2 separate regions of the Homo sapiens genome follow, and region 1 is linked to region 2. The links are contacts of gene promoters, found by promoter capture Hi-C in human tissues and cell types (Jung and others, 2019). All regions are on one chromosome and are shown on one strand. The core of a region is centred on a gene start or on the middle of the fragment in contact, and the rest is flanking DNA. Distances in the headings are between cores, read along the strand shown. Region 1 overlaps FCHSD2 (FCH and double SH3 domains 2). Region 2 holds the start of P2RY2 (purinergic receptor P2Y2).

Region 1 (4,794 bases), core at 1,217-3,716, 230 kb after region 2:
AGATTTGTAAAGCATGTATAAACAAATAATTTAGCCACAGCCCACAGGATGAACATGAGCACAGTGGAGGGGCGTTTCTGAGAAGTGGGGATTTGATAGGGTCTGATTCACAGAGCTGATCACAAGGAATTGCCTTCTAACATGACCCAAATTCAGAGGGGATACAGCAAGCTAGACATATTAATATTAACTTTTCAACTATAGAGTAAGGAATGCCACTTTATCTTCATTTATTCGCAGTTTGTTGAATACTTTATATTGGATATGGTGAGTACAGAGATGAGTAAGGTAAGCTTTGTGCCCTCAAGGAATTTAAGGCCTAGAATTAGAAACTCAAAGAAATCAAGTGCCTAAAGTCACTTAATATTAACTAATAACTTACTTGCAGTAGTAATGTGAAAACACTTTTAGGAAAGCCTAGAAAATATAGAGGTTAATTTTGCCTAATGATAAATGAAAGCTTTATAGAAGAAGTGATGTTTGGATAGAATCTTGAGGAATGAGTATAAATTTTCTAAGTAGAGATAAGGAGGAAGATCAGGAAGGGGAAGTTAAACTGTACTACCTATAGTTTTTATAGATGATTTGATAGATGGTGTGGAGATGCACACATTAGGAGAGACCATAGAAGGAAGAGGGATACAATTTGAAGGAGATGATGAATTTCATTTTGGATATGTTTATTCTGAAGAGCCTGGGAAACACTGGGGTGAATATGTTTGGAAGGTAGTCAAATATCTGGCACTTAAATGAGAATTTGGGCCTCAAGATCTCGCTTTGAGGGTCAGTTGCCTATCAGATGGTAGTTACATAGTATATAGAATAGATGAGAAGTTGAGTTTGGAACCCCAAGGAACATTAATTTTGAAGGGTAGGTGGTAAAGAGTAGCACGCGGTATAGTTCATTATTTGTGTAGTGTTTGGGTGTAAAAATCCTGCCTTATTTTTTCTAGATTGAAATGTTTGAGAACAGGTACTATTTTATTCTATCTATCACTAATACCTACCTTAATACTACACAAGAAGTATATTAGGATTAGGAAATAAAGCAGAAGCCAGAAATTTAAAACCTTATATTGGAAGATCTACATGCAACTCAGCCTATTTGGGTAATGACTGTAAAAAAAGGAGAACTGGGAATATCCCCAAACACAGTCTTATTCTGAAAAGGCTTTCTTAGAGATTTGAGTTTGTGGCCTTTACTTTTCTAGATAAAATAAACAGGAATATGATTAATAAAAGTAAAATAATTGGGGCCGGGCACGGTGGCTCACGCCTGTAATCCCAGCACTTTGGGAGGCCGAGGCGGGTGGATTACAAGGTCAGGAGATTGAGACCATCCTGGCTAACATGGTGAAACCCCGTCTCTACTAAAAATACAAAAAATTAGCTGGGCGTGGTGGCAGGCGCCTGTAGTCCCAGCTACTCGGGAGGCTGAGGCAGGAGAATGGCATGAACCCAGGAGGCAGAGGTTGCAGTGAGCAGAGATCACGCCACTGCACTCCGACCTGGGCAACAGAGCGAGACTCCGTCTCTAAATAAATAAATAAAATAAAGTAATTATGAAATATGACTATGACAAGGTAAAAAATAACAGGAATCTTTTAAACCCAATTTTTTTAACAATGGGGAAGTAGTTGGGCTGCATATGTGTTCATCCCTGAATGTTTTCTCTTGTTAGAAAAATAAGAGGCTGCTTTTCCTATCCTCTTCACACTGGCTTTGCAAAGACTAACTGCTCCATCATCCAGTCCCAAACTGGCCAGCAACTTTACTTCATGAGGCACAGCTGCCAACACATGTATTGAATTCTCTCATGGAAATCACCCTGACACTGAAGTCAGGACAAACATTGCAGCTTTAAAAAAAAAATCACTGGTCCTGGGAGTGTTGCTTGTTCCCTAGCATTTGTCTGTTGACTTTCTCCATATGGTTATCTGCAGCTGTTTGGGTAAAATCAACATGTTTGTACTACCTATTGTTAGATTATGGTTACTCTCCCAAACTGAAAAAGGATCAAGGGAAATAAGAACCCAAGAGTGGGAGAAGATTACATCATACAGGGCAGAGTCCCAGGACTTTCTCAGTAAGTTCAGAATACCCCCTTAGAGCAGAGGAGGCACACAGGCAGGTACCCAAACAAGAAGTACTTTTAATGGTGGAAATAATAGAAGTAAGGACTTCATAGAGCCTATTGTTAGAGTCTTTCACACACAGCCCTGAAAGTTTGCTGACGCTTGCCTCCATAGGTTGATTGTCCCTGGGTCTCTCTAACCTTTGCAGGAACTAAAGTGTATGAAGTTGTATGGTACTGAGAATAGTCTATAATTTGATGGCTCTTGTTTATTAGGAGACACCAATATATTTTGATTTTTTTTTGGTCAAGTTTTTTTTTTTTTTTTTTTGGTCATTCTGGATATTTGTCTTATATTAATCCCAGTATTTCCTGTTTTACCATGATAATAAATTCTTCCTGTAGTAAAATAAAGGAAAATAATCATTACTCTTGGTTTTCCATTTTTTCATTCTTTTTTAGAGCAGTATCTTCAAAAAAGATTATTTTTAAATTTTAATAATATATTTAGTAATTTTATTGTGATATAATTAGATGATTTTATTAAACATACTTTTCTATTTTTATTATAGATCTAAACTTAGTCTTTTTCAATCAAGAATCAGTTTACAGAAGGCAAGTGTAAAGGTAAGTTTTCAATAAGTGTATTTCACAACTGAGAAACCTCTTAGCTTGTAAAACAGAGAATTGGATCTTTGAGGGTGGAGGTGGATTATTTCTACCTTAGAGAAGCATTTTAAAGTCACTGACTCAGGGAGGAACTTTCCCTCCCAGTTCATGGGGGTTTTGCACCCAGCTGTCAACACCTTGGACACACTTGCTTCTCAAGACTGCATTAGGGATAAGTTTCTGGACCTTACCTGCTTAGGCAGCCTGTTGTCTTTAGCTCTTAGTCCAAGAGACTTAATCCGGGGGCTTTGGAAAGCTCTACAAAATCTATTTCGTTTAGATTTAGACCCCTGAGTGATATTCTGGGCCAGATGTGAGTGAGTTTTTCCTTCGGAAACTTCACACTGTGGAATGCCTGATTAAGTAAGCTTAGAGACCTGGCTGTGGCTGCCAGGCTTCAAACTAGCATGCAGTTCATCTGGCACATTAGGAGTGCTGATTTTTAAAAAACTGTTTTCTAACTCCACTAGATTTTACCCATACCTTTGAAGATAAGGTACTTATTTCAGAACCTTTATTTAGTCATTTGAATAAATGGGCAAAATATTTTTAAGTTATCTACAAAGCTTTAGAAGTATGTTAAGCAAATATTTGAAAATGCTCCTGCCCTGTATAACAGTTCTAGTCACTGTTTCATTCCTTAGTAGTGATGAATAATTTTTATATACGTATAAATGTTTTCCGCACGTGGTTACCTTTATTCTTGTTGGGGAGCCATTAATTGCAAACTAAGAGTAGGATTCCTATGTGTTTTGCAGTACAATATCAGTTTGCACTGATTATTTTATTTTGCTATGTTTTAGTTAAAAGCCCGGCGATCTGAGTGTAATTCCAAAGCTACCCACGCAAGGAATGATTATCTTCTTACCCTAGCGGCAGCAAATGCACATCAGGATCGCTACTATCAAACAGATTTAGTTAACATTATGAAGGTAATACAGCTTTCATATCTATGGTAATTTTACTTCATTGAAAACAAAAACAACTTAAGTTGGGTGTTGGGTTTATGGGATTGAATCTATAAAAGAGTAGCCAGGCTATGTTGCATCTCATTGGAATATACTTGTTATTGTTTGGATAGCATCTGTTTCAGATAATTTGGAATTAATTTTTAGTTAAGAAAATGTTTACAGACAAGTCACAGTAAAGGATTATATTATTCCCTAGGTGCGGCAAACATTTGTTATCTAGTGGTTATTGATGTAGAAGATACAAGAGTGATGTAAGAAATAAAATAATGACTCAAACTGGGAAACTACTTCTGAGCTATTTTATGAGACTCATGTCATGGTTTCAATAAATTATTGAAGCTAGGCAGAATCTTCAGGTATCTTCTGAATCATCGGAGAAAGACATTTTAGCATAATTTTTGTTAGATTGTATCTGTATTTTTTGAAAAATTTTTATAAGAAAAGTTTTATGCAAAAGAATATTTCTATTAAAAATATATTTTTATAGTGTATCTCTTAGCCTGAATTTTTTATTAACTACAATTTTGGCCACAACTATGTCTAATGATAATTATGAAGCTTTTTTTAATTTTAATTTTTTAGAGACAAGGTCTCGCTCTGTTGTCCAGGCTAGAGTGCAGTGATGATCACGGCTCACTGCAGCCTTGAACTGCCAGGCTCAAGCAATCCTCCCGCCTCATCCTCCTGAGTAGCTGGGATCCAGGTGCATGCTACCATGCCTGGCACCTTTCTTTTATTTATTTTTTTTTTTTTTTGAGACGGAGTCTCGCTCTGTCGCCCAGGCTGGAGTGCAGTGGCGGGATCTCGGCTCACTGCAAGCTCCGCCTCCCGGGTTCACGCCATTCTCCTGCCTCAGCCTCCCAAGTAGCTGGGACTACAGGCGCCCGCCACTACGCCCAGCTAATTTTTTGTATTTTTAGTAGAGACGGGGTTTCACCGTTTTAGCCGGGATGGTCTCGATCTCCTGACCTCGTGATCCGCCCGCCTCAGCCTCCCAAAGTGCTGGGATTACAGGCATGAGCCACCGCGCCCGGCCCCTTTCTTTTATTTTTAGAAACAAGAGTCTTGCTATGTTGACCA
Region 2 (4,478 bases), core at 1,080-3,579:
CTCCTTTTAGAGCCTGGCAGGGCAGGAACTGGTCATTCAACCAGCTGGGAACAGAGCTGGGATGAGATCAATTGCAGGTCCCCAAATTCCTCAGCAGGAGCATCTGAAGGCTCAGGGAAAAGTGTTTGGCCAAGGGGCAAGGGCTCAATTAGGGTTCAAACAACTCCTGGGACAGTTCTAGTGTTGACATCACAAATGCCCTGACCTCCCTGCACTTGGCAATACTTGATCCATTCTCCATCCTGCAGCCAGAGAGCGCTTTCTGAAATGCCGCTCTGACCATGAAACACCTCTGCTCATAAATTTCCATGGCTCCCTATTGCCTTCAGGATAAAATCTCTAGGTCTTTAGCCTGGGCACTCTAGGTCCTACAGTGTCCCAGATCACACTGTTCTGGCAAACTGTGCCACCCACTTTGATAACCAGATTCTGGTTTGCCCTTCTTTGTAGTGACATGGAGCTCCCCTGCAGCCGGGCCTTTACTGGAGAAGCTGGTGCCAGAGACAGGGGATGGGCGCCACTGCTGCTCTCTCAGTTCAGCTCAGCCCTGTGCAGGGTGCTGGCAACACAGAAATAATAAGACCCAGTTTCTGCCCTCCAGGAGCCCCTAGACCTGGGAAGAGGAAAGGAGGAGACAGACATAGATCATGACGGTTCAGGTGGGACCAGGGCTGTCAGCCCCAGGCCTGTAGGGGCCTAGAAGAGGCTCCAACCCAGCTGTAGGGATCAAGGAAGGCTTTCCAGAGGAGAGGACATCTGAGCTGGGTCCCAAGTCTGGGTAGTTCTCCAGTTGAGGAAGGTGAGAGTAGGAGGGCTTATCAGAGAGGGAGTGTAGAATATGCAACAGGCCAGGGGCAAGAAATGAGAGACTCCAGGCAGCTGCTGCAAGGTAAAGAGTCAGGCGGGAGAGGTGGCTGGAAAGGCTGGCAGGCCCCAGTTATCAAATACCTTAAGTCCCAGGCTACAGGGTTCAGGCTTGGTCCTGTGGAAGGCTTGTGCCCTAGGGAGGGGCACAGTTGGGATTCTGGTTCTGGGAGGCTCCTTCCAGGGACTGACTTCCCATCCCCAAGCTGTGAGCCTGCCCATGGGGGGACACTGGTGCTGAACATGACACACTCATCAGCTCCTCAACAGCCCTCAAATTCCTTATCATTAGTCCCTTCTTACAGACGAGGCCACTGAGGCTCAGAGAAAGGACGGCTTGCCCAGGCCACACAGTGGCCAAGACAGGATTGGAACATAGATCTCTGAGTCTCCAGAGCTCTCTTGTGGACCTGTCTGCTCAGAGAATCTTCTTCCTTCCACTTCCACCCACAGGTAATAAACTTGCCTGGGTCTCCACCCAGATCCTCAAAACTCATAATTATTTCAGCTTAGATCCAAAACAAACCAGGCAGATCAGGCTGTGGTCCTGGGAAGCTGGGGATGCCATGCTGAGAGGAACAGCAGCCATGGACCCCACAAATCCCGAGCTGGCAATTCTGGTCTCCAGCAGTCCCCAACCCTTGGGCTGCGCTCCTGGAGGACCCCAAGAGGGCCACTGGCAGCCTTCGGGTTGGGGGGTGGGGTATCGCCTTTCTCCTGACTGACCCTTTCTACCGCACCATTTGCCAGATTAAAAGCCCGGGGACAGAGGCTTAACTGTCCTTTCTGGCCACTCCCTCCTCCCCCGCCCACTCCCTGCAACTGCCCCCTCAACATTACCAATGGTAGGTGGCCACCCAGAGTGACCCTGGGGTTAGGACAGTGGTAGGGGGTCTCCAGGGGTTCGCGTCTCTGGGCACCGGCCACCGCCTCACGCCACGGGGACGCTCACATCGGAGCACACACAGACAAGTTCCGCAGGCTTGGCCAGTCGCCCCGAGGGGCGCACACACTCACCCGCTAACACGCAGACCTCCCCAGTACGCTGACGCGCACAGCCTCACTACTGGGGCGCCCGTCCACACTCACCGAGACCGACGCTCCCGTGGAGACAAAGTTCAACCACGGACCCACAGGCGCGTTCAAGCCGTCCAGTTATGCGCTACACGCCGGCTCGCAACTGTGCCCCGGGGCGACAGCCGCTCCACAGCGCCCTCCCCTGCCCCGCGCCCAGTCCGCACCTGCGCCAGTCTGGCCCGCCGCTTCCCCGGGCCTCTCCCAGCGCCTTGTTCCCTCCAGACGCCCCACCCCACCTCTCGCCACTGCGCTGCGCTTCTCCTCTCAGGGTGCCGTCGCCGCCGCTCCCGGGTGCCAGTGCCCGGGTCCCGCCGCAGCCGCAGAGACCCACGTGCCTGGGAGCCCGGCTACCCACCTCCCTGCGCTGTTCCCCAACCCCGAAGCCGGGCCAGGCAGGGGGCGGGGCGGACTTTTGACTGACCCTGGCACCGCCCTCAACCCGCCCGGGTAGACACCGCGCCACCCGCTCCGGGACGCCGCCCAGCGACAAGGCCGCGGGGTCAGCGTGTCTGTACCGGTGCTGCAACGGGAGGGTCGGGCGGCGACGCTCTCACTGCCGGGCCAGAAGGAGGCCTCCCGGCTCCCTCACGCTAGAAGGGAGCTGGTTACCAGAGGTTTTCAGAGACGCCAAAGTTTTGCCAGGTCAGCCCGGTGCCTGCGTGGCCCACTGCGGGACCTTTGCGCCCAGCCACCGCGCCACCCTACCCCTGTCCCGCCCCTGCCCCAGCCCGGCTGGCCAGGAAGGGACCTACTGGGAGATACCTGCTCGGAACCCCAGGCTAAGGACGTACCTCCCTTGCTTGAAAGTGGGGGAAGGGGGTGCCTCTCTCCATTACCGTGGTTAGGAAAGCAGGGTACTCAGGATCCCGCCTCTCCCGTGCTCCCCACTTTCCCTGCCTTAATCTTATCAGCAGCTCCCTGAACTCCCCACTCTGGCCCCTTATCTTGAGCTGCTTTACCTCTCTTCTCTGTCGTCAACCCCACTCTAATGGCCTTCCCTGGTCGGGCTACCGGCTGCATGTCTGACCCGTTCGGAGACTGTGAGCTCCCGAGGGCAGGAACCAGGTCTGCCTTCTTCCTGCTGCTGTCCTAGAGGTCCTGGGAGGTGCTCAATCCTTGAAGGTGTGAATGGATGAATGAATGAGCACCCCGCCTCTCTCTCATTTCTGGTCTAGGAATCAGGAGTGTAGGTTCCTGTCTGGCTTCAGCACTGACTCTGGGAGACCTTGACCCAGTTCCATTCCCTGGCAGGGTCTTCTTTCCTGTGAAATGGAGCCAATCGCTCCGCTGGCTGGACAAGTGCAGAGGAGGCCTCTTCCTGTAGCCAAGGAACTTGCCCCGGGCCTTCGGGGCCTTGGGCCCTCTTGGGCTCCATATCAGCTGACTGGGCCTGGCTGCCAGGAAGGGTGCTGGCTGCAGCCCCACCAGGAGCAGTAGCAGAGTGGACACACAGCCCATAGTGGCTGAGCCGCCTCTGCAGTCCTGCTGGGGCCTTTGCTTGGGAGACACAAAGGCCCCTTGTCTAGCCTCCTGCGCCTATTGTCTAAGCTGGGCCACGCACCTTCCAGGGACCTAAGTATCCTCATAGCCCGAGTTATAGGGCCTAGGCCTTCAGGTTCCAGTGTGGGGAAGACCCTTTGGGCACTGGAACTCCAGCCAACCCTCTCTTTCTCTCCCCTCTTCCAAAACTTCAAACCTTATACTGTCACTGCCATTTAGCCCAGGAGAAACAAGTTTCTTTGACGCCAAGTTGAGGACCCAGGCTCGACCTTAGCCTTCAGCGGGCAAATCTGGTTGGTGGCCTGCCCAGGGCTCTGCCCCTGCTCTGGCCCAATTCCCTTACTTTACAGCTGAGGAAACTGCATTCCTGAGACATACAGCGTTTCAGCTACCACACAGGTGACTTAGTGAGGCTTGAGGAGCAGAGGAAGGGGCCTAGTCCTTGAACCCCATAGCCTTGGGTTTAGATTCCAGTCTTACCTCACCTGTCCTATGACTCCTCTCTGAGCCTGAGTTTCCTCTTTTGCAAAAGGGAGTAATACTAATCTCTCACTTGCTGGCCTGTCTTAAATTTTTTGAGAAAGGGCCTCACTCTGTCACCCAGGCCGTAGTGCAGTGGCATGATCACAGCACACTACAGTCTCTATGTCCCAGGGCCAAGGGATCCTCCCATCTCAGCCTCCCAAGTAGCTGGGAATACAGGCACATGCCACCATGCCGGGCTAATTTGTAAATTTTTTGTAGAGATGGGATCTCCCTGTGTTGACCAGGCTGGTCTCAAACTGCTGAGTCCAAGCAGTCCTCCTGCCTCGGCCTCCCAAAGTGCTGGGATTCCAGGCATGAGCCCCTGCACCCTATCCTTAAATTCTTTTTTCATGGTTTTATTCATCATCCCAAGCTGTCTGGGCTCAAGGCGTTAGTATCCCATGCAATGAGGGCCTAGAAGTTTCGTCTCCTGACATCCTCCCCAGGCAGTCCCATCGCTGGGTTTCAGAGGCCATCAAGCCCAGCAGGCTTCAAATCCCCCAACAGAGTCC

Evidence for each region. Contacts are between HindIII fragments. The study calls those that stand out against the background at their distance.
Region 1: a fragment that was not itself captured here is called in contact with the fragment with the promoter of P2RY2 in region 2 in 2 of the 25 tissues and cell types used here (dorsolateral prefrontal cortex and mesenchymal stem cells).

What each region holds. Positions count from the first base shown.
Region 1 is chr11:72,982,969-72,987,762 of GRCh38, reverse strand. FCHSD2 (FCH and double SH3 domains 2) reads left to right here. Exons shown (of 20, transcript NM_014824.3): 7 at 2,647-2,701; 8 at 3,547-3,675. Among named protein-coding and RNA genes, the nearest start is that of FCHSD2, 160 kb to the left of the region's middle. RefSeq lists a silencer at 1,852-2,052. The HindIII fragment of the contact is 4,178 bases long and covers 378-4,555 here.
Region 2 is chr11:73,216,132-73,220,609 of GRCh38, reverse strand. P2RY2 (purinergic receptor P2Y2) reads right to left here and starts at 2,329. Exons shown (of 3, transcript NM_002564.4): 1 at 2,178-2,329. LOC124902709 (a long non-coding RNA gene) reads left to right here and starts at 2,417. Exons shown (of 3, transcript XR_007062773.1): 1 at 2,417-2,583. RefSeq lists enhancers at 1,058-1,776, 1,777-2,495 and a silencer at 2,209-2,418. The HindIII fragment of the contact is 8,220 bases long and covers 1-4,478 here.